Linked DNA regions of Homo sapiens: regions 1, 2, 3, 4, 6 and 7 are each linked to region 5. Evidence: promoter capture Hi-C in 16 types of primary human blood cells and fetal thymus (Javierre and others, 2016). All regions are on one chromosome and are shown on one strand. Each heading gives the region's core, a stretch centred on a gene start or on the middle of the fragment in contact. The rest is flanking DNA. Distances are from core to core; before and after follow the strand shown.

Region 1 (3,034 bases), core at 207-2,706, 750 kb before region 5:
CGCCTGTAGTCCCAGCTACTCGGGAGGCTGAGGTGGGAGAATCACTTGAGCTTGGGAGGTTGAGGCTGCAGTGAGCTGTGATTGTGCCACTGCACTCCAGCCTGGACAACAAAGCAAAGACCCTGTCTTAATTTAAAAAAAAAAGATGTGGGAAGAAAGAGAAATTGGTAGGTCAGGTAAGGCTTACAGGGATTCTTTCTGAATAATAAAAATATTCTAAAATTGACCATGGTGAGGTTTGCAAAGCTCTGTGAATACACTAAAAGGAATCAAACCATACAGTTTAAATGGGGGAACTGCATGGCATATAAATTATACCTCAATAAGTTTTTATTTTTTTTTTTAAATCCAGATTAGTGATCTGTAAATGTCACTTAATAAGTTACTATATGATGTCTGCCAGCAAGGAATGTGCAATTTCATGGAGATATGAAGTATACAAACTGAAATATACACAATTACATAGCAATGTACTTTGAAGCAAACAGAACACAAAACCATTTCCTGGAAAGAAACAATGTACGCTAATCAAAGTTTCTTGGTGTAGGTCCAAAACACTGCTGAAACACAGAAAGGAGAAGAAAAATTATTCCACTTTTAGGGAGTAGCTTAAGGCATCAAATATGAGAAGGAAGTTTCAAGCCAGCCTATTTTGGATGCAGGCATCTGCGGATACAATTACAGCTTGCAACTAAGGGCTCAGAAATGTCTCAGAATCTTTTTTGGTTTTGGTGGGCAAATTAAATAAATTGGCAACCACAATTGTTTTAATATAGTAATAAGTAAAAGAAGATAATGTGTTTCTGCCACGTAATGAGGGCAATTCTCGCCGCCGTTACTGAGCTGTGCTCACAGTACTACTTACTGAAGACTGTGACATTTCCCAGTCGCTGGAAGGATCTTTGAAGCCACTTTCGTCCTTCAAGTATTTTTCAAATAATCTTTTATTGATGGGCTCTTCCATGTCAAGAACATCAAGGGCCTGCTGGTGCTCTTTTGCAGCATACTACGTGGAAAACAGAAGTGCCGCTCATCACTCACGACTTCTAACACGAAACACATGATCCGAATTTTTAAAGGATAACATATACTATGCCCATTATTTAAATGTGAAATGTCTAAAGTAGAATTTTCTTCATGCATGTCAGCATGTGGTAAACGAAGAATCAGTATTTTATAGCAAACATGACTAAGGAAAGGAACACTTCCTCATGAAATACTTTACTAACCTGCTAAGCTCCATCACTAAAATTCTCACACATATTTAAGAGATGCATAACACTCATTTTATTCAACCAAATAAAAATGAAATTATGAGCATACTTACATGGCACCTAGCTGCAAGGTAACGACATGCTTCATACAACTAGGAAAGAAATTAATTTGTTTAAGTAGTGGTCAAAATAATATGTATCTTCACTTTCAAAGAAAGCCATAAGCATAAAATAGAACTAATTTCATAATTTCTCCTTTTACTCTTGCAGTTAAAAAAAAAATCCAGTCCTGTTAAACCATATTTATTATGAACCTACTGTTTACTAGGCACCAAGGATTCAAAAGCAGTAAGGCCCTGCCCCAGGAGGTTACAGTAGGGGAGATGTGAACTAAGCACAACAGGTAAGCATGACGAAACGGGGCAACAGAAAGCATCAACCAGGTGGAGAAGTAAACATCTGCAGGAGAGCGAGTAAGTGAGGCAGCGAGTAAGTGGTCAGGCAGAGGAGTGGAGCACTGGGTAGCTCTTCAAGCACTGAGTGTGAATAACTGCTGGGGGTCCAAGGAGATCGCAGCAGCTCCACTTCAGGCACTGAGTGTGAATAACTGCTGGGCGTCCGAGGAGATCGCAGCAGCTCCACTTCAGGCCCTGAGTGTGAATAACTGCTGGGCGTCCGAGGAGCTCGCAGCAGCTCCACTTCAGGCCCTGAGTGTGAATAACTGCTGGGCGTCCGAGGAGCTCGCAGCAGCTCCACTTCAGGCACTGAGTGTGAATAACTGCTGGGCATCCGAGGAGATCGCAGCAGCTCCACTTCAGGCCCTGAGTGTGAATAACTGCTGGGCGTCCGAGGAGCTCACAGCAGCTCCACTTCAGGCACTGAGTGTGAATAACTGCTGGGCGTCCGAGGAGATCGCAGCAGCTCCACTTCAGGCCCTCAGTGTGAATAACTGCTGGGCGTCCGAGGAGCTCACAGCAGCTCCACTTCAGGCACTGAGTGTGAATAACTGCTGGGCGTCCAAGGAGATCGCAGCAGCTCCACTTCAGGCCCTGAGTGTGAATAACTGCTGGGTGTCCAAGGAGCTCACAGCAGCACCACGTGACTGGAGCACGTGCTCCAGGTATTGATGGTGGTGGATTAGACGCAGAGTGGAGAGAAAACAAGGAGGGCCTCACAGACCTACTGATGCATCTGACTTTATCCTGCAGCTAATGGGAAGTCACTGAATGACTTTGTGGGAATATAACCACATCCGTGTTTTAAAGACTACTCACTCCTGTAATAGTTCACAAGATGAACTTGTGACAGGGAAGATAAGAAGAGAGAAACTGTTACTGGGGAAAAGAGACAAGAAGAGAGGCTGTAACAGAACAGACAAAAAAATCAAAGGCCTGACACGTACGAGTGGGGAGGAAGAGGAATATCCATGATTCCAGAGCTGTTTAGAAAACAGTCTTCAGAATTTAGAGACTAGATGGGAGATGGGGGAAAAAGAAGGTGACAGATTAGGTATAAGACATTTTCCCTTCACTTTCACTAAAAAAAAACTGGGCCTACTGTGATGACTCACATCTATAATCCCAGCACTTTGGGAGACCAAGGCGGGAGGACTGCTTGAGACCAGGAGTTCAAGACTAGCCTGGGCAACATAGTGAGGCTCTGTCTCTACCAAAAAAATTTAAAAATTAGCTGGGTGTGGTGGCATGCACCTGTAGTCCCAGCTATTAGGGAGGCTGAGGCAGAAGGATCACTTGAACTCAGGAGTCTGAGGTTATAGTGAGCCACGATCATCCCACTGCACTCCTGGGTGACACAGAGAG
Region 2 (3,027 bases), core at 395-2,894, 790 kb before region 5:
AGTTCAAGACCAGCCTGGGCAACACAGTGAGACCCCCGTCTCTACACAATTTTTTTTTTAAATCAGCCGATCATGGTGGCACACGCCTGTGGTCCCTGCTACCTAGGAGGCTGGAGGATTGCTTGAGCCGCAGTGTGAGGCTGCAGTGAGCCGTGATTGCGGCTGCTGCACTCCAGCCTGGGCAACAGAGCAAGACCCTGTCTCAAAAAATAATAATAATTTAAAAAGCACGAATATTCTAGCAATACTTCATTAGTATACCTACAGATTATAATAGATTTTTAAAAACCAATAATCCAACCTTTGCTGTCAAGGAAGATATATCCATCAAAACGATCTCTAAAAAGAAGGATGTCATCAGGATTCCTAAAATTAATGTATGCTCTTGAGTAGAGATGAGGATAAAGACTGAAATAAGAGATAACAGTGAAAATGGTCAGTGAAAAATACAATAGTCCATTAATTTAGCCTCTTTTTCCTTTTCTGGGCACAACAAACTACTTTAGATAAAACTTTTGTGCCAAATCATCTCAGTTAATTGTAACAACTTGGATATTCTTTAGCAAAAACAAACGCAAAACGTTAACTTTACAAGGCAGAACTCAGGTCCCTTCTCCACTGCCCAGAACCGGTCCTCCGAGGCTGAAACCCTAAGGCAAGGCCAGGGCGCACTCCCAGAGGAACCCGTGGCGCCGAGAGACTCTCCTGACTTGGGGACCTTCTCCGGTATTTAAAACCGCACTGGCTGCGGCACCAGCGTGGAGGCCACAGGAAGAGCCGGCGCCCCCCGGCCCCGCAGCGCCCCGTCCGCGGACGAGCAGGGAAGCCCGGGAGGCGCCGGGCGGGCAACGCTGGTCCTTTCAAAGGCACCCGCTTTCCTAAGCGTTAGCCGTCTGAAAATCATCCGCATTTTTCATGTAAACCACATCTGTGTTTCTTTGTTGGTGGTATTTTTCTTTGACGGAACGGACACGTTTTACTGAAATGTATTTATTCAAAAAGCTCACACGACTCCCATATAGGAGAAATCAGGGTAAGGAACGTAAGGCAACGAGACGGCCACCGCCGCCGAGCTCTGGGTTCCGCCCTCTCTTCCTCCCCTCGGGGCGGGCCTCACCTCAGGTCGGCGGCGAAGAACTCGAAGTAGTCGTGTGCTGGCAGCGGGCGCAGCTGCTCCTCCAGCTGCTCCTTGGTGAGGCCCGGAGGCAGGCGGCGGATGACCACCTGCGGGGAGCGCGCGGCCGTTCCCACCGGGGCGGAGCGTGGACAAGGAGCTCAAAAGGCACCGCGTACCGCGCTGGGAGGCCCGGCCCCCGCCCCTCCCTCCCCTCCCTCCCCTCCCTCCACTCAGGGCCGTCCTCTCCTCGCGAGGTTTGCGCGCCCCGCCCCCGTCCCCACCTTGCTCAGGGCCGTCCTCTTCTCCTCGCGAGGTTTGCCCGCACCGCCCCCGCAACCGGAGGACGAAGTTGGCGGCGTCTCAGCCTCCTGCTGCTGCGAGTCGCGGTGGAACTGCACTTCTAGGGCCGACAGCTTCTCCCTCCCGCTCGGGCCCCGCGCGGCAACGGCCGCCCGAAGGCCTCCGGCCCCCTCCTTTTCCGAGCGCATGCCGCACTCTCCGCCGAGCCGCAGCCGCCAGCCCCCGACGAAACCTCGCGAGAGCTCGGCCGCCCCAGCCCCGCCCCTCCTCGAGCCGCGGCGGTCGGGGCCGCCCACGAAGGGGTCAGGCGCTGCGGGACTAGTCGGGGTCGGGGTGGTGACCTCCGGCCACACAGCCTGGCTTTCCGCCGGGTCAGGCGGCCCCTCAGGGAGCGGCGGCCGCGGTTTAGGGCGGCCCCGGAAGCGGGGCGCCGGCGGCTTTGGTCCGGGCGTGGTGGGAGGAGTTCGCGGACAAGCCGCCCTCCCATCCCAGCACCGTTTTTATCCCACTCCCCCAGGCTCTCCGTGGCCGGGGCGCCATGAAAGCCGGGTTCACATTTGAATTCTTAATTTTTTTGGAGACAGTCTCGCTCTGTCGCCCAGACCGGAGTGCAGTGGCGCGATCTCGGCTCACTGCAGCCTCTGCCTCAGCCTCCTGAGTGGCTGGGACCTACAGGCACGCGCCACCACCCCTGGCTAATTTTTTTGTTTTTTTAAAGTAGAGACGGGGTTTCACCTTGTTGGCCAGGATGGTCTCGGTAACTCCTGACCTCAAGTGATCCGCCCACCTCGGCCTCCCAAAGTGCTGGGATTACAGGCATGAGCCACCGCTCCGGGCCCTTGCACATATTTTTTTATGAACACACAGGCAGCAGCACTTTGATTACAGTAACTTACATGGAAGTTATTTTAAAATGGCTTTCCCCTTCTCTTTTTCATGTAGGCTGCATTTTTCATCTGCAGCACGCTTTCTCTCAAGAATCTCAAGCACACACAAGAAACCAGAGAGTAAAATCACTGAGGCGTGAACACATCCAGAGACCAAGGGCGTCACTGGCAGAAAAGCTTTTAGGCGGATCCACGGCCCGAGAGCCACCCTGCCCAGAGACGCGGTTTCCTAGGAGCAGTTCACACGCGGCTCTGCAGCACCCACAAGCGGGGCCAGGGGCTGGTTTTCATAGTTCACAGTCTGCAGGGATCTTAACAAAAACATGGCCGTGGTAAAAGTGCCTAGACCAGGCTTTCGTCACAACTCAGTGAGTAGGAAGACTAGTTAGGCTGATGAAAAGCTCTGATGATGTGTGATTAAAAGTAGGAAAACGTGGTTGCCAAATAAAATATTTTACTATATAGTCAGGGGGAGAGATGGGGATAAAAAAATGTGGAAACCATTTATTTTAAAATTTTGACTGTTCCTGCAGTGTTTAAAATATAGGAGATATATTCTGATTATCTTTAGAAAGAAACTGCTCTCAATCTATTTGTATGTCTTCCCTCTGGTTTTAAAATATTAAACAATCATCTAACTCAATATTTAATTTTACCTCTAGTCATGTTACTAGGTTAGGATAATAAAAAGGACTGTGAACTTCACATCTGCCATCTATAATA
Region 3 (3,211 bases), core at 78-2,577, 560 kb before region 5:
ACAACAGCTCCTCTTAGCAGGGGGGGCAGCCTGACAGAGGGCCCCAAAGCGCTGCCTCCCCTGCTGCGATTCAGGAGCAAGGTTCTAAAGCCATTGCTGGAGAAATTCCTGGGTGGAGGCTGGAGGAGGTCTTGCTCCCCAGGGGTAGTGCAGCAGGGCCATGCTGTGTTGCTATAAACCGCTTTTACATTTAGAAAGGGGCACGTCCAGTCTGTGGTGATAATTTTATGGAGTTCGTATGTTTTCTTGTAGCTTCCTCTTTCTGCTATTTTTATCTCTTTTTATTGAATGGATTTCTGGTTTATTTATGAATTTTAAGCACCTCAATTTCCACGGACAGCTGTCAGCACCACCAGAAGCCTCACGGGACCCTCCCAGGTGCCCAGCCAGCACGGGCCTCCCCCCACCGAGCCCCCCACTGCCAAGCAGAGTTACAGAGAGAGGAGCCACTTGTGCAGAGCCTTTGGCAGAGCAACTGAACACCCCGCTACCGGGCAGCGCCCAGGGACGCCGCACTCTCAGCCCTGCTGCCCAAGCCCTGGGGTTAGTTTCGTTTCATCAGATGTTGGAGTGCCTCGGTTTCCCACCCTGTGCATCAGGGTGGTGAGGAAGTGTGCAGGGTTAAATGCCAGGTGCGCGGCGCCCGTTTGTGGGGTGTGCTTAGCGCTGGCATCCTCATCTCACCGCCCCTCACCACGCACCGGACACGCACCAAATATGCATCAGACACACATCAGACACACACCAGACACTCACCACTCACCAGACACGCATTGGACACGCACTGGACATTCATCGGACACACATCAGACATGCAATCCAGCCCGACCCACTTCCTCCTCCCTGCCTTCCTGCCAGGCAGGCACAGGCCCATGTGGTGGGGTCCTCAGTGCCTGTGCGGGGGCGGGGGGCTCTCGGGAAACGGTGACGCGCCAGGTGAACCCCGAGGCCTGGGTTGCTCTGAAGCTGCTGCAGCTTCCTGACAAGCCGGCTGCTGGAGTTTGTGCCAATGGAGGGCGTCCGTTCCATTCTCTGGCAGCTTGGCTATCGGTGCCGGTGGTTCTGAGGTTCCTCCATGGTGAACGAAGCTTGATTTACGCCTTTTGGTTACGCATTTGCCGCAAGGCCCAGAGCTGTGCGTGCTCCCGCTGGGCTTCTTGTGTGAGATGCACCGCAGCCAGGACAGCCTGGGCACCTGCCACTCTGGAGCAGGAAGTGAAGCCTCCAGCCCTTGGTTCTTGGGGCTCTGCCGGGAGCGAACGGGGCTGGAAACGCCAAGTCCAGGCTGCTTTCACACATTCAAACACCACGGCTTCCTGCCATCACTTAGGCCTCAGTGGCCCTGAAAGTTGCTCTAGGACGTACAGAAGAGGCCGTTTTGTCGTTGTAAAAATCCCAAATGTTTTGTGGATTACTATTAATTGTTAACGCTTGTCCTGTGAGTAGCTCGTCACCTGAGGCCTTGTCGTGAATATTAAAATGCACGTCTGGTGTCCCTTTTGGCTTCGAGGTTGATAGTGGTTTTTCCTGCCAGTGGGGACGCTGTCCGCAGAGCACCAAGCTTCTCCAGGGAGGCCACAGGGCGCTGCCTGGGGAGTGTGCGTCCTGCCCCGAGATCCTGCAGCTGTGACTTTACACAGGGTGGAGGCAGGGTCACGACCCCTGCGCCTTGTTATGAAAGCAGCGCATTGTGTGGGGCGCATCTGTGGTGCCTTTGTGTACATGTGCACCCAAGTGCTCCAGGGCACATGCATGCACGCATGAACATGCACACATGCCTGTGAGCACACATGTATGGGCACATGCATGGCACATGCATGCACACACCCATGCACACGTGCCTGTGGGCACACACATGCACATGAACATGCACACCTGCCTGTGGGGACACACATACGGGCACACACATGCACACACAAACACGTGCCTGTGGGCACACACGTACAGGCACATGCATGCACACACCCACACACATGCCTGTGGGCACACGCACCCATGGGCACACACGTGCACACACCCATGGGCACACACGTGCACACACCCACACACACATGCCTGTGGGCACACACACCCCTGGGGGTCCCTGACATCAGATCTCGGCGGTGCCCACGCAGACGCAGGAGATCAGAGGATGGCTCGCTGCGTCAACGACCAACGCGAGAATGTGTTTAAAGGAAACGTGACTTTCTAATGGGCCTTCATTAACCAGGATGCTGCTACAATGGAGTCGGTGGAAGTCCCTGAGCATTCTGCCTTCATTGAAAGATAAAGTGATGTTTCTTTTGTGTGTAAATGGATACTGCTGTGTTTCCAAAATGCTTAAAACAACCTAGGCATTTTAGGCTTCCCTTGGAAGATTGTTTTATGACAAAAAATGGTTTTCTGAGTAAATGTTACCCAGTCTCTGACCCAGTTATAAAAATACTGAAATCAGTGAAATCCAAATGAAATGCCTGTCATTAAGGCCGCTGCAGGGAGAAGGGGTGGGGCCTGGACTCTGGACCCCTCCCACCTGGACTCTGGGCCCCTCCCACCTGGACTCTGGGCCCCTCCCACCTGGGCTCCGGGCAGCAACAGTCGCCCGCCCCAGGTTTGGGCTTATGCCTGTGCCGTATCTCCTGGTTTAATTTGCATTTTCTCAAGGGCTAATGACATGGAGCATTTTTAATACATTGTTGGCCATTTGTCTTTGGTGATATGTGTGTTCAAATCTTTTGCCCCTTTTTAAACTGAATTATTTGTCATCATTTATTGAGTCATAAGAGTTCTTTATATATTCTGTATATAAGTCTTTTATCAGATAACTGACTTACTAATATTTTTTCTAGTCTGTCTTTTCACTTTTTATTTTTTTAATTTTTATTATTTTTTTGAGACTGAGTTTTGCTCTTGTCACCCAGGCTGGAGTGCAGTGGTGCAATCTTGGCTCACTGCAACCTCTGCCTCCCAGGTTCAAGCGATTCTCCTGCCTCAGCCTCCCGAGTAGCTGGGACTACAGGCGCCCACCACCATGCCCTGCTAATTTTTGTATTTTTAGTAGAGATGGGGATTTGCCATGTTGGCCAGGCTGGTCTCGAACTCCTGATCTTAGGTGATTCGTTAGTCTCAGCCTCCCAAAGTGTTGGGATTACAGGCGTGAGCCACAGCACTGGCCCTTTTCACTTTTTAAATAATGCTTTTAATGCAAAAAAGTTTTTAATGTTTTTAATTT
Region 4 (2,916 bases), core at 108-2,607, 520 kb after region 5:
AGCAGTACCTCACACAGCGTGAGCAGAAAATGGGTTTGTGCTGAAGGAAGAGGCCAGTGTTAATGGGTGGTAAGTGGAGTATGATGCAGGGTCACCTCCCCTAACTAAACGCTACAGGGTGCTCATAACCGAGGATATCTGGTAAGCTGGACTTGAAAGTCCTGGTGAAGCATGCAATTATCGGTAATGCAGATGTGTGGGAGGACGCACATCTCACTGCCTGTTCCAGATGAGACGATGGCCCACACCGAGCGCCCGGCTCGCACGACATTCAGTGAGCAGACAGTGTCACTGCTGCTCTTCTGAGATAGCCTTTTTCCAATTAAAAATGCGCACATGTCTCTTGGAGCTCATGAAGAAACCCCAATCCCTAAAAACCTGGGGAATGACATCAGCCTCTGGAGCGGTTCCCACTCTGTGACTCTGACACCGAACGGCACGCAGAGGCATGCAGAGCAAGGGGGGCTTTCTCCTCCACCCCCACAGCCGATCGGAAGCCTCCCTGTGAACCTGGCATCCACGCAGCCCTTCACCATACTCAAACCCTGCAAACCCTGCACGGAAAAGCTCCACTCAAGCTTCAGAAAAAGAGCTGATTCTCTAAGAATCAGGGAGCAGACGGCATGAAAATGGTTTTGTTTTCTTTCGACCCACATACAATAAACCCAGCAGCTTTGATCATAAAAGCCCCCATTAAAAACATCTTGATTAGACCATCCCATACGATGGTGCTTATGCTGATTTAATCACTGGTTCACTCTCAGAATCCATCGGGGTGGGCAGAGAAAGAGAACCACACCCAAACCAAGCAACTGACATTTTAATCTCCCAGGCAAGTACTAGTTAGACAACTAGTAATGGCATATATGACATAACATATGGCAACATCAGGCAAAACACTTGGCAACTTACTTTTAATGATATATCATTATTTCCTCTTCATTTCAAGGAAAACGAGTTAAGGATGCCTCTCCCTTCTGCATAACACAGCCTGAGAACTCAGATGCGACCGCCTGAAAGCCACGGCCAGATGCAAGCTGTCAGCCCAGTCTCTGCTTACACCTAAAAGAATCGATCTGAACTACTCTTCAAAGCTTATTTGAAGTAATATTTCGATTAATACTGAAAATGAACGTCCAGTCCACTCTTTACCCATACCGTCTCAAACATCTGTCTTAGGTTTAAATTGCATTTAATGAAGAAAAGAACCACCTGATTAGTCCAGGTTTTTTCATCCTCAAAACGAGCTTCCAGGTAGCTTCACCATCCCTACCCCTGGCTCTGAAACCCCAAGCTCTGAAAGCCCTTGGCTCAGATCATTCTCCATTCGCAATGCATTCTCCATTGCGAGGGCTGCGGACAGGCAGGTTGATGGGCAGACTTCAGACACACAAATGGCTCCGCATGCAGACCCAGCAACCCTGAGAGAGCCAGTGTCACCAACGTGCAGTCATTTTGACTATCCCGGGCAGCATACGATCGCCGACAGCCTCTGAAAACACACCAGCTGCCAACCAGTGCCCCCCATGTCACAGCTACCACGGCTAGAAAGGAACACGAGGGCGGCTTACAAAAATCAGACGCATTTCCCCACATTTCAGCCCATGATGTCAAGCTTAAGCACAGATCACTGACGGCCAGCAGCTCCTCCTACCCGTGTGCTTGGAAACCGCATTTAATCTCTGCACCATTTCTTCCAAGGCCATCTCTTCAGTCCTCAGCCAAAACCTCATCCTCCGACACAACAAAAATGATCCTGGCAGATCCGCTTCCTCCGCACGGGGGGCGCCTGCGGGTGGGGCCGTGCGAGTGCGGAGGGGGCGCGGCGGAGGCGGGGAGGGGGCCACGGCAGCGCTTTCAGCCTCCAGCCGCCGCCTCCCTGCCCAGGATTGGTTCCGCGCCACCGGGAGGGGGGCGCGCGCTGCGCCGCGGGGGGCGGGGGGCGGCTCGGCGGAAGCGGAAGCGGCGCGCGCCCGCCCCGGTGTGTCACCACCGCGGGTCACCTGGGAGTCCTGTGAGTGCACCGCCGGGGTCACCTGGGAGCCCCGCGTGTCACCGCCGCGGTCGTCGGGGAGCCCCGGGGCTCACCAACGAGGTCACCTGGGAGCCCCGCGGGTCACCGCCGCGGTCACCTGGAAGTGTCACCTGTGTCACTAGGTCACCTAGTGTATCACACAGGTCACCTAGAAATTCGTGTCACCGCCAAGGTCACCTAGAAATTCGTGTCACCGCCGAGGTCCCCTGGGAGCCCCGCGGGTGCCGCACAAGTGCCCCCGCCCTTCCCCCCGGTTCCGGGTCTCCACGCCCTCCTGGTTTGCGGGCAGCCGCGAAGCCGCGAGTGGACCGAGCGAGTGCAGCTGCCTCCGCGGGGCCGCGCCTGGCCGCCGCCTCCCTTTACCTCCGGCCGCCCCGTGGCAGGTGTAGAAGCTGCAGAGGCCGCAGCAGCCCAGCGCGCCCCTTCCGTGTGGCCGCATGCCACCCGCGCCGCGCCCAGGTAAGCAGGTCCGTGGGTCGCTGGGTCCATGCGTGGGTCCGTGGCTGGCCGGGGATGGACCAGCCCCTCCCCGCAGGGGCATCGCCTGCCCAAGGACGCAGGACCCAGTGAGGGAAGCGCGCGCTGCAGGCACGGGGCTCTCCACCCTCGCCATGGTTGGCACCAAGCCACACTGTGCACTCGACACACGCAGCGTCCTGGCTGCCACCTGCAGATTCCAGCTCGTGTCTATGCAGGGCCATGGCCGCCATCACAGGGCCATATGCAAGAAACTCTCTGAGCTCTCCTCGCCCAAAACCGCAGCTATCCTTTTGTGGTTTGGTATTATAGGTAACATGCCCTTCCTTAAAGAAACAGTATTTCAGGCCTGTAGTCCCAGCTACTCCGGAGGCCGAGGCAGAAGCTGAGGCAGAAGCAGGAGG
Region 5 (2,953 bases), core at 310-2,809:
ATTACGACACAATTATCTGTATTCCCAGCGCTCTGGGAGGCTGAGGTGGGCGAACTGCTTGAGGTCAGGAGTTGGAGATCATCCTGGGCAACACAGCAAGACCCTGTCTCTATTAAAAATGAAATAATTAGCCGGGCGTGATGCTCCCTGTGGCCCCAGCTCCTGGGGAGGCTGAGGCGGGAGAATCGCTTGAGCCTTGACCAGCCACTGCACTCCAGCCTGGGCGACAGCAAAACTCTGTCTCAACAACCACAAAAAAGCTTTAGAATATTTAAGTCAAGCCTGTAGGAGAAAAAAACTACAAATATTTCACAAGTAATCCAATCATTAAGACACTCCTTTTGAAAAAGCCGGTAAATAAGATAAATTTGGAAGACAGAATAATCAGAAAAACAGGCAGTGAATAGGGACCCGATACGCAGCGGTCTTGCTTCCCCCGCGCAGGCGTCCACACCCTGGGTCATGGACACCGTGAGGAGCCGTTAGGAGTCACAGGAGGGGGGCCAGGGACAGGGCTGCATCTCTGCGGCCGGCCCTGGAGGCCCCGAGTCCACCCGGGCGGCCAGGGTGGGAACGCAGGTTCCATTCCAGGTTAGAACGTGGGCCTCAGCGAAGAGCGCCTAGGCAAGGCCTGGAGGAGCGGGACCCCAGGCCACACAGACCACCCGACCCCGGGAGACAATACCTGCAAGAAAAGGGGAGCCCCGAGGAGAGAGAGAGGGGAGGTGAGCCCCAGGGAGGGAGAGAGAGGAGGGGAGCCCCAGGGAGGGAGGGAAGGAAGGAAGGGGACCCCTGGGAAGGGAAGAAGGGAATGGGAGCCCCGGGGAGGGAGAGAGGGGAGCCCCAGGGAGGGAGGGAAGGAAGGAAGGGGACCCTTGGGAAGGGAAGAAGGGAAGGTGAGCCCCGGGGAGGGAGAGAGGGGAGGGGAGCCCCAGGGAGGGAGGGAAGGAAGGGGACCCCGGGAAAGAGCCCCGGATGGACGGGCCTGGTGCTCACCGGGACGCAGGGATCCGCGCCCGCCCGTCCGGCCCGAGCATCACCGTTCCGCGGCCTGGGCCGGGCTCTGAGGCGCCAGGACCCGAGGGGCGGAGGGGGACGCTGTCTCCCGCCTCGGAGCGCAGCGCCGGAGGGCTTCCTTGCATCCCTTCCCAGGCGGGACCAGGGAGGCCGGGAGGCCGGGAGTCCGGGAGGGAGCGGCCGCCGCCCTGCCCAGCACCGCCCCCGCTCAGCCAAGCCGACCCGGACTCCCGCCCAGCCGCAGTCACTGCCCCCTTTAAGAGGCGGGGCGTGGGCGGGTCCCGTCGGCCGCGGGCGGCGAGCACTTCCTGGCCGGCGTGGGGCCTGGCAGCCGCAGGCTGGCGTTGGACCCCGCAGGGGCGAGCCAAGGCCCTCGCAGAGGGCTGGACGCGCAGGGGCTGTGGGGCGCGAGCTCCCGTGGGCCCCCGGGCGGCGCTGAGCATGCCGGGAGTGGGAGTCCCCGCGGCCGGCTCCCGGCACTGCCCCGGAGCCGAGGGCCGCGGCCGTCCGAGGACGAGGGCGGAGCCGCCGCCGCGCCTGCGCAGAAGGCCGGGGCCGGCCAGAAGCGGGCGGCGCGGGGGAGATGGTAGGTGGCCCGGCGTCGCCTCTGCCCGTCGGGGTCGGGGTCGGGGTCGGGCCCCAAGGTCGGCGCAGGCGGCGCGCTGGATGTGGGAGGCCGAGCCCAGCGAGCTGCGCGGGGCGTTCCGCGTGGATCCGAGGGAGGAACGCGCCGCGGGCCCGCGAGCCGGAGCGGTGGCGTCGGAGGCGCGGGACCGCGGGGAGCGCGGGTTTGACCCGGAGCCGCGAGGGACGACCGGGAGTGAGCGGAGGGCGGGGGCCGGGAGGAACTGTAGGGGCCTTGGGGCAGGGGCCGGGGCCGAGCGGGAACCCAGGCCGGGGGCTTCCCAGGGCGGCTTCGAAACGGGCAGTCGAGGCGGGCGAGGGCTCGGCTGCTCCTGCGGGCGTCTGTGCAGATGCTGAGGCTGTTGACCAAAACAGCGCAAGGAAGGAATCCGCGAGAAGCTCAGATTCGCGGGGGAGGCCCTGCTGCCGGGAGGGGAGGGAGAGGCACAGCGGGGCCCTAGCGCGGGCTCTAGCCGGGAGCTGTAGCGTGGCTGTAGGTGTGCATCTGTGGAGCTGGTAGAGTTCCGCAGCGCAGGAGGGAGGCTGCTGGAGGTGCACATCAGTTACTTTGAAATGTGGTGGAAATGGTGATGGATGGGATTTATTCAGTCCACATCGGTTCAGAGGCCAGCAAGGTGCTGCTGGGTGTGACTGGTGCTGGGCCAGGCATGATCTTGGCGTTGAGGGAGTTGATGCCCCAGCAGGGGAGACAGGCACCAGATGCACAATTGTTTGACCACAGTTGGGACAAAGGCTAAGGCACGGGTTCCAGGAACTTGTAGGATGCGGCTGTGGGAGTGGTGTCAGATGCTGAGGGTGTGAGTTGAACTGTGGAGAATTTCTCTGGAAATTAGCCAGAGAAAAAGTGAGGTTCCGGGGCAGCCAGCCGTGTGCGGCTCCAGGCAGAAGAAACAGAATGCACAGACCCTTAGTGGTAGGCGATGATGACGTATAGGAGCTGAAAGATTGTCCTGGCTAAGGCACAGAGAGCCACCGGAGAAGGGACACGGTAACGTGTAGAGGGGAGTGGAGGGTGAGGACAAGCTTCAGGATGGGAGAAGAGCCACAAAGGAGACTGAGAGGGGGCTGGTAGGAGAAACCAGGACACTAGAATGTGTCGAAACCAAGAGGATGGAGTTTAAAGGAGGAGGGAGCCATCAGCAGTGCTGAACAAAAGAGCAGCTGAAAAGATCCCACTGACCGCAGCAGCCGAGCTTTTGTGACCTTTAGGGGTCACTGCGGAGGCCGGGCTGGAGCCAGGTAGCCTGAGTTAGGATGCACACCTGGGCAGGTAGAGATAGCTTGCTCCAGC
Region 6 (3,250 bases), core at 292-2,791, 630 kb before region 5:
CAGCAGGTGCCGGTACCTCTGGAGGGTGCGAGGTTGGACAGCCGTTGTGGAACTGTGGTGGGGGTCGGGGAGGCAGCTCACTGAGCGCGTCTCGTCTTACGCAGCCGCGGGTCAGAGCAGGGGTCTGTGTTCACGCAGGAAAGGAGGGGCTTGCCGTGCAACCAGAGCTTCTAGCTTTGAACCATAGGTGAAGGCGATGAACAGACGTGTCTACTGCAGCAGCACCTGTGGCCAGTGGCTGAGTGAGCAAATAGCAAACAGTAGAAGCAATGTTGAGGAGTTGGGGTCTCCCCACCAATCTCCTGTCGAACTGTCACCCCGTCGTTGGAAGTGGGGCCTGGTGGGAAGCGACTGGATCTTGAGGGTGGATTTATATGAACAGCTCAGCGCTATCCCCTTGGTGCTGTTCTCACGATAGTGAGTGAGTTCTCGTGAGATCCGGTGGCACACCTCCCACCTCGCGCTCTTGCCCCCGCTCTCGCCGTGTGAGACACCTGCTCCCCCTTCACCTTCTGCCATGACTGGAAGCTTCCCGAGGCCTCCCCAGAAGCAGATGCCTCCATACTTCCTGTACGGCTTGCAGCACCGTGACCAATAAACCTCGTTTATTTTGAATTACCCAGTCTCAGGTGTTTCTTTATAGCAATGCAAGAACAGCCCAATGAGTAATCGCCAACTGAAACGGTGATTATGTCATGTGCATCCACATGTGGGCTGCTCTGTGGCTTTCAAGGAACATATTAAGCCCAGGCCAAACCACATGACTCGCAGGAAGTTCCACGGCATAAGATTCAAAAGAAGCAAAATGAGAGCGCCCAACACCACCCCCTAGAAGAATGATAAACACAGATCAGATGAGTGTGCGCAGATCAGGGATAAGACCCACACAGCCTGCTAATTGGATTACCTGTGGGATGGCAGGAGTGCTGTGGTAGGAAGAGAGACAGGAATACAAGGCCTTCCGTAGCAGCAAGTATATGTCTATTATGCATCAATGTGCAACTATGTATACGGTGGGTGAGTGAGTGAAGAACAAAGGCGGAGCTTAGAAATCATCCCTTCACAGATTGCAAGAACAGTGTCGGCTGTGGAGGACGCCAAGGCCGAGAAAGAAAATAACTTGCCTTCATTCAAGACAATGTGCTGTGTGGGAAATGCATGTGGACAGGTGAAGGAGCGGCTCCGTCAGGCCGCAGCGGGCGTCCAGCAGTGACAGGCGGAGTGAGTTGTGGCTGGCCCCTGAGAGGCCCCTGACAGGTTTTGGGGCTCCAGCCTTTGTGTCTGGGAGGCTCTGGCACAGGTGAAGGGGAACTGAGGGTTACGTCACCTGTGACAGATGGTTCAGGGTCTCTCTGGGTGTGACGCAGAGTCCAAAGTGAACAGTTACAAACGTTCAAGCTTTGCTGTAGATATGAGTTTCAGAGTCACCGAGGTGCCCGGGAACGCCCTCGTCGGGCCTGGATCCCCGGAAGTGAGTTTCCCCATGGGTTATTGGTCAAACGGCATCAGAGTGTCTGGGAGATTTTGTTTTTCTGTGAGTATTTTCTCAAAAATAGTAGTTCCTTGTTCTATGAGTGTCTGAAAATATTAGGTGTGTTTCTGCAGACAGGGCTGGATTCCTGGGGCTGTAGCTCTAGCCACCCTGAAATTTGGCATTCTTAGTTTTCGTTTTCAAATAAGCTTGAATCCCACATTTGGAACAATCACCCAAATTTAAGTCTCAGTTTTGTTCCTTCTGGGGACAGTCAGTGCCCTGCTGGTATCACAACACAGCCAGTAACGGCTGCAGCGCTGACCTGCGTGTCCTGGGTCCCGAGAGACACCGTGCCGGGCTTCTGGGGGCTGGGCCGGGGGGCTGGGTCAGGAGACAGGAGCCGCACTGGGGACCGAAACCGGTGCCTTGACCTGGAATTGATCGAGGAACGACTCCTGCACCTGTTCTTTCCTCTTTACATTGTTTCTTTTATGTTATCCGAATAATTTCCAACCTGTAAAGAATCATCTGTCTTGGCCCTGACTGCCCATAGGATAAAATTCCAGAGGTTGGTAAGAGGTCTGAGTCTTTCCTAGACACCGTGGGGATCCTTTTTCTGACCACCGACCAGACAGATGTCCACTTAGGACCTGCATGGGGGCCGTGGCTCCCAGCCCCGCATGGCCCACCCCGTGGGTGCCTCCCTCGCCCCAGGATGGGCCAGAGTCCTCAGCCCCTTGCTGAGAGCCACCCTCCCTGCCTGGTGCGCATGGCGTGCCCAGGGTAGGACGGAGGATTCTCTGGGATGCCTGACAAAGCCTAAGGGTGATTGTTGTTGTGTCTTCCTGGAGCTTGGTTTTTGGACGTCATCGTCTCCAAGCTGCAGCCCGGGTCTGAACTGGGCGCGATAGACCCAGGCTGGCTGTTCGTGTGGCGTTGGAGCCAGTTCCCATTTCTGCGTTAGGTTTCATTCCTGGCCTTTTCCCTGCTTTGAGGGGCTGCACAGAGTACCTGAGGGCCCTTGCGTGCACCCCTAAATCTTCTCTTTAGCTGTGTTCCTTCTGAAGGAAAAGGTTTCACTCTTCTTTTCAGCTCTGGAGATTTCTTGTTTTGGTTCCAAACCCTCGAGGTGCTGGAGCAGCTAGTTTGCCTTGATCTTGTCACTTCTGTGTTTTCTCTTCCCCAGAGCAGCCATTGCTCTGGGAGCCTGAGGACCAGCCTCAGCCCATGGCCCCTGCTGGGGCGGCCACCTCGGCGTCCGGTGGTGACTGTGCAGGACACATGTTTCCGGCCCCCCTCCTCTGAGGCTCCAGGAGCAAAGTGCTGTCCCCAAAGCCATGCCGGCAGCAGGAGCGTCTCCATGCCGGGCACGCACCGAAGGTGTGTCCAGGGTGTAGGGACCCAGGAAGGTTGTCTTGTGGTGGACTCTGATGACCACAGCCCAGGCGCTTTTGTGGCTCGTGGAATCGCTTCCTCAGAAAGGAGGCTGGGTGCTGCCGCGGCCTTTTCCTTCCTAGAGCCCTTTCTCATGCAGCGTTGGCTGGGCCTGCTCAGCACTGTGGCAGCTGTCATGGCAGCCAGTGGTCCTTGCTTTGGGCAGCAGTGAGATGCACAGGCCTGGAGTCAGGGCTGGGGCCGACCTGCCGGAGACCCCCTTCCTAGCTGCGTCCCTCACTCGGGGCCGACCGGCCGGAGACCCCCTTCCTAGCTGCGTCCCCCTGTGTGGAGGCCCCACTGGTTCTCCTGAATGCTGTGCCCTCTGCTTCCATGTCAGAA
Region 7 (3,260 bases), core at 514-3,013, 830 kb before region 5:
AACCTTTCTTTTTAATTTGGTTGATACACATTTGACAAAATATTTTAGAATAAAATAATCCATGAACAGGTACAAGGTATTTACAGTAACATAATTGAAAAACATAAAATCGATATATTTCTTTAACAGAAATGTCTATAAAATTTTCTACTGTGAATCTGGAAGACTTTCAGTTCCTACTTATCAACCTGGTCTTAAGCCCCAACAGGCGACATGTAAGGCCCAGGAGTAGGATATACAAACTCTAACACATTTGGCAATTAAGAATCATCTATTAGTGTGAGCTGGCAGGCGGTGGGTGGGGGGTGGGGATGGGGAGGGAAGAACCAGATCTTAGGGTAAGATACAGAATGGAAGACTCCACTGAAAACAACTATGGACAAGAAAGATCTAAAATCACACTTATCTTTCACTTGTCTCCTGTGGGAGAAGGCTGCAAACTATTTTAAAGACTTAGTCAATTTTTCCCATTAGCAGAAAATCAGCAACCCTGAGACTCCAACATTTCATGACATAAAAGCTAATAAACATCTAGAAGCTGATTAAGATTTATAAACTAATTTTACATCAGATAGAAAATAACTCTTATGATTTAAAAATACATGTAAGGAAACAAAATTTCTCAAATTTATTTTTCATGCCTAATTCTTAAACATTTCAACTAATATTTTCTATTGTCTGAAATTAGTTCCACACACAGATACACTTTAACTGAATGCTTTGAGTACAACTTGCTCTTGATTATTAAATGGAATGCCTACTTCCTTGTATTATTATTCATACATATTTAAAAGAAATGAGAAGTTTAATCCATCTGGACTATACAGAAATTTATTGACTTACAAGATAGTCACATAGACAGAGACCAGAAAAAAATGATCAAATGCTCATTCTTAGTAACACAACTGAGACAGTGAAACACGGTACACCATACATGTCATCTACTGATCCAACTATGCTATCTGATAAGCTATACTTACAAAGAATGGTTCCAACAAACACCTTTGTAGAACAAATATTCACACTGTGTTATCAAATTTGCTGCTCCTCCAGTGGCGGTTCAAGAGCTTCCATTAGCTTTTTATTTGCCTCTTCATTATGCCGGCTTTGACAATGAGTTAAATGTTTCTTAAAACCTCTTGGGAAATTTGATTCAAAATTACAACGTGGACATTTAAGTAAACTTTGCCCATGGGCTGCTACATGATTTTTAAGGAGAGATTCCAAAAGAAAAGCCTTTCCACAGATTGTGCATTTGTAAGGGCTATGAACATTATGCTTATTAACCAAATGATGCAAAACAGCACCTTTTTTCATAGCACGACAGCAACAAATTTTGCAATAATACTTTCCTTTTCCACGCTTCATGTATTTTGCAATCTCCTCTTCAGAGATAAAAGCTTCTTTTTCTTCAGTAAACTGTAGCACATTTCTAGACTGCTCTGGACTAGTCATGTCCATTTTGTTCTCTTTGCTAAAATCAATGGATTCCACATCAACCTGCTCTTGATCACTGCTTGATTCCTGGCCCTTAATATCCATCGCATCCAAATCTGTTTTTATGTACTCACTACTACTAAGCTCAGCGTCTGAGCTCTCTTGGTTGTCTTTCTTGAGCTTCTTTGAGGAAGGAAATAAAGTATCTTCTAAGAGTTTCTTAGGTGAAGCTAGAAGTTCTTCCTGAACCAAAATATCACATTTTTGATCATCTATGGCATCTATTTGTAGTTCATCACCAAGCTCAACAGCCTTCTGTGATTCTGAGAATAGAGCAGATTTGGGGAGTTCAGGGAAAAGGGCATGCTTCCGGGGCTCTGGAAAAAGGGCACGTTTGCGTGCTTCTGGAGAAGCAGGAGGGGCTGTTTTGGCAGGCTCGGGAAACAGGGCAGGTTTTCTAGGCTCAGTATCGATAGAGAGAACAGGCTTCCAGATATCTGAGGCTGCTTTGGGGGACTCAGATGGCCCAGAAGGACCTGGTTTTCGGGTCTCAGGGAAGACAGGTTTCTGAGGCTCAATAAAAAAGGAAGACTTCCAGAGATCAGGAGAACCACCACGGGAACTTTTCTGGGACTCAGGGAAATCAAGTGAAGCAGGAGAAGTTTTCCGCTGATCAGGAGAAAGCTTCCAAAGATCTGGTGACCCTGAGGGTTTTCTGAGCTCTGGAGATCCTGCTGGACTACGGATCTCTGGGGATAGTGGTGGGCCGGGTTTGCGAAGCTCTGGAGACACTGGGGGAACTGCCTTCCAATGTTCAGGAGACAACGTGGGAGCTGTCTTTCGGAGTTCTGGTGGGCCAGACTTCCATGACTCAGGAGATGCAGGGGGAGACTTCCAGGAGCTGGGTGAGACTGATGAAGATTTCCAGGATGCAGAAGACACAGATGGAGTTGGTTTCCAAGGTCCAGGAGATACAGAAGGAATTGGTTTCCAAGGTCCAGGAGACACAGATGGAGCAGGTTTAGCTGGCTTCCAAGGTCCTGATGATGCTGAAGGATTGGATTTCCAAGGCCTAGGGGACCCAGGTGGCCCTGGTTTCCAAGAGCCTGGTGACACAGCGGGGGCTGGTCTCCTAGGCTCTGGGGAGACAGCAGGGAACGGCTTCCAAGGTTCAGGAGACTCTGAAGGGGATGGCTTCCTTGGCTCAGGGGAGGTAGTCCGGGCTGACTTCCGAGATTCTGGAGATGCAGCTGGGGATGGTCCCCAAGGTTCTGGGGAAGCAGCTAGAACTGGTGACTCTGGAGATGAGGCTGAAGGTGGCCCCAATGTTTCCGGGAAATGAGACTGCTTCTGGGGTTTGGGATTACTAAGAGTAGCCTTTACTGACTCAGGAGATACAGGGGCAGGTTTCTGTGGTTCTGGAGAAGGAACAGGGGCAAGTTTCTGAGACTCACAAACAGGGACTGATTTTGGAGGTTCAGGAGAAGAAACAGAGGCAGGTTTTGAAGGCTCAGGAGAAGGAAGAGGTGTCTGTAGCTCAGGAGAAACAACAGAGCCAGGTTTCTGAGGCTCCAGGGGAGTAAGAGGAGTAGGTTTTGGCGATTCTGGAGACAAAACTGAACCAAGTTTCTGTGTTTCCATTGAAAGGGCAGGTATGGATTTTGGTTCTGCTGAATTGCAGGGTATTTTCTGGTGTTCAGGAAGAGGAGGGCTTTTCACAGGATCTGTTTCTTTGTTCAACTGATTTTTTGGTTTATCATTCCATTTGTCTGGGGATGCATGTTTGGATGTGATGTGATAGTATACATTAGAGTACATCTTGC

What was found. Contacts are between HindIII fragments. The CHiCAGO score rates a contact against its expected background, and 5 or more counts as called.
Region 1: a fragment that was not itself captured here is called in contact with the fragment with the promoter of DCUN1D2 in region 5 in 5 of 17 cell types (neutrophils, monocytes, erythroblasts and 2 more); the score reaches 9.0 in neutrophils.
Region 2: the fragment with the promoter of UPF3A here is called in contact with the fragment with the promoter of DCUN1D2 in region 5 in 1 of 17 cell types (neutrophils); the score reaches 5.5 in neutrophils.
Region 3: a contact is called between a fragment that was not itself captured here and the fragment with the promoter of DCUN1D2 in region 5, in 1 of 17 cell types (neutrophils). The highest score is 6.2, in neutrophils.
Region 4: a contact is called between a fragment that was not itself captured here and the fragment with the promoter of DCUN1D2 in region 5, in 2 of 17 cell types (non-activated CD4 T cells and naive CD8 T cells). The highest score is 6.3, in non-activated CD4 T cells.
Region 6: a fragment that was not itself captured here is called in contact with the fragment with the promoter of DCUN1D2 in region 5 in 2 of 17 cell types (neutrophils and erythroblasts); the score reaches 5.1 in neutrophils.
Region 7: a contact is called between a fragment that was not itself captured here and the fragment with the promoter of DCUN1D2 in region 5, in 2 of 17 cell types (M2 macrophages and neutrophils). The highest score is 5.3, in M2 macrophages.

What each region holds. Positions count from the first base shown.
Region 1 is chr13:114,237,322-114,240,355 of GRCh38, reverse strand. It overlaps CDC16 (cell division cycle 16), which reads right to left. Exons shown (of 18, transcript NM_001078645.3): 4 at 1,328-1,366; 5 at 866-1,006. Among named protein-coding and RNA genes, the nearest start is that of CDC16, 3.9 kb to the right of the region's middle. The HindIII fragment of the contact is 5,477 bases long and covers 1-3,034 here.
Region 2 is chr13:114,280,218-114,283,244 of GRCh38, reverse strand. It overlaps UPF3A (UPF3A regulator of nonsense mediated mRNA decay), which reads right to left and starts at 1,644. Exons shown (of 10, transcript NM_023011.4): 1 at 1,399-1,644; 2 at 1,118-1,224; 3 at 302-408. The coding sequence starts at 1,605. LOC105370384 (a long non-coding RNA gene) reads left to right here and starts at 2,176. Exons shown (of 4, transcript XR_007063887.1): 1 at 2,176-3,027. RefSeq lists silencers at 627-836, 1,217-1,396, 1,627-1,896 and enhancers at 976-1,663, 2,117-2,416. The HindIII fragment of the contact is 7,060 bases long and covers 1-2,483 here.
Region 3 is chr13:114,053,788-114,056,998 of GRCh38, reverse strand. The region is part of intron 2 of RASA3 (RAS p21 protein activator 3); the gene reads left to right. Among named protein-coding and RNA genes, the nearest start is that of RASA3-IT1, 54 kb to the left of the region's middle. The HindIII fragment of the contact is 473 bases long and covers 1,091-1,563 here.
Region 4 is chr13:112,968,197-112,971,112 of GRCh38, reverse strand. MCF2L (MCF.2 cell line derived transforming sequence like) reads right to left here and starts at 1,899. Exons shown (of 30, transcript NM_001112732.3): 1 at 1,655-1,899. The coding sequence starts at 1,733. MCF2L-AS1 (MCF2L antisense RNA 1) reads left to right here and starts at 2,475. Exons shown (of 1, transcript NR_034002.1): 1 at 2,475-2,916. RefSeq lists a silencer at 1,964-2,023 and an enhancer at 2,225-2,744. The HindIII fragment of the contact is 521 bases long and covers 1,097-1,617 here.
Region 5 is chr13:113,489,317-113,492,269 of GRCh38, reverse strand. It overlaps DCUN1D2 (defective in cullin neddylation 1 domain containing 2), which reads left to right and starts at 1,559. Exons shown (of 7, transcript NM_001014283.2): 1 at 1,559-1,603. The coding sequence starts at 1,601. It overlaps SLC9D1 (solute carrier family 9 member D1), which reads right to left and starts at 1,249. Exons shown (of 13, transcript NM_017905.6): 1 at 997-1,249. RefSeq lists a silencer at 939-1,858 and an enhancer at 2,089-2,388. The HindIII fragment of the contact is 2,425 bases long and covers 263-2,687 here.
Region 6 is chr13:114,122,655-114,125,904 of GRCh38, reverse strand. All of the region lies in intron 1 of RASA3 (RAS p21 protein activator 3), which reads left to right. LOC107987192 (a long non-coding RNA gene) reads left to right here. Exons shown (of 2, transcript XR_001750050.2): 2 at 1-618. Among named protein-coding and RNA genes, the nearest start is that of RASA3, 8.3 kb to the left of the region's middle. The HindIII fragment of the contact is 282 bases long and covers 1,401-1,682 here.
Region 7 is chr13:114,324,054-114,327,313 of GRCh38, reverse strand. It overlaps CHAMP1 (chromosome alignment maintaining phosphoprotein 1), which reads right to left. Exons shown (of 3, transcript NM_032436.4): 3 at 1-3,260. The coding sequence ends at 1,033. Among named protein-coding and RNA genes, the nearest start is that of LINC01054, 8.3 kb to the left of the region's middle. The HindIII fragment of the contact is 721 bases long and covers 1,403-2,123 here.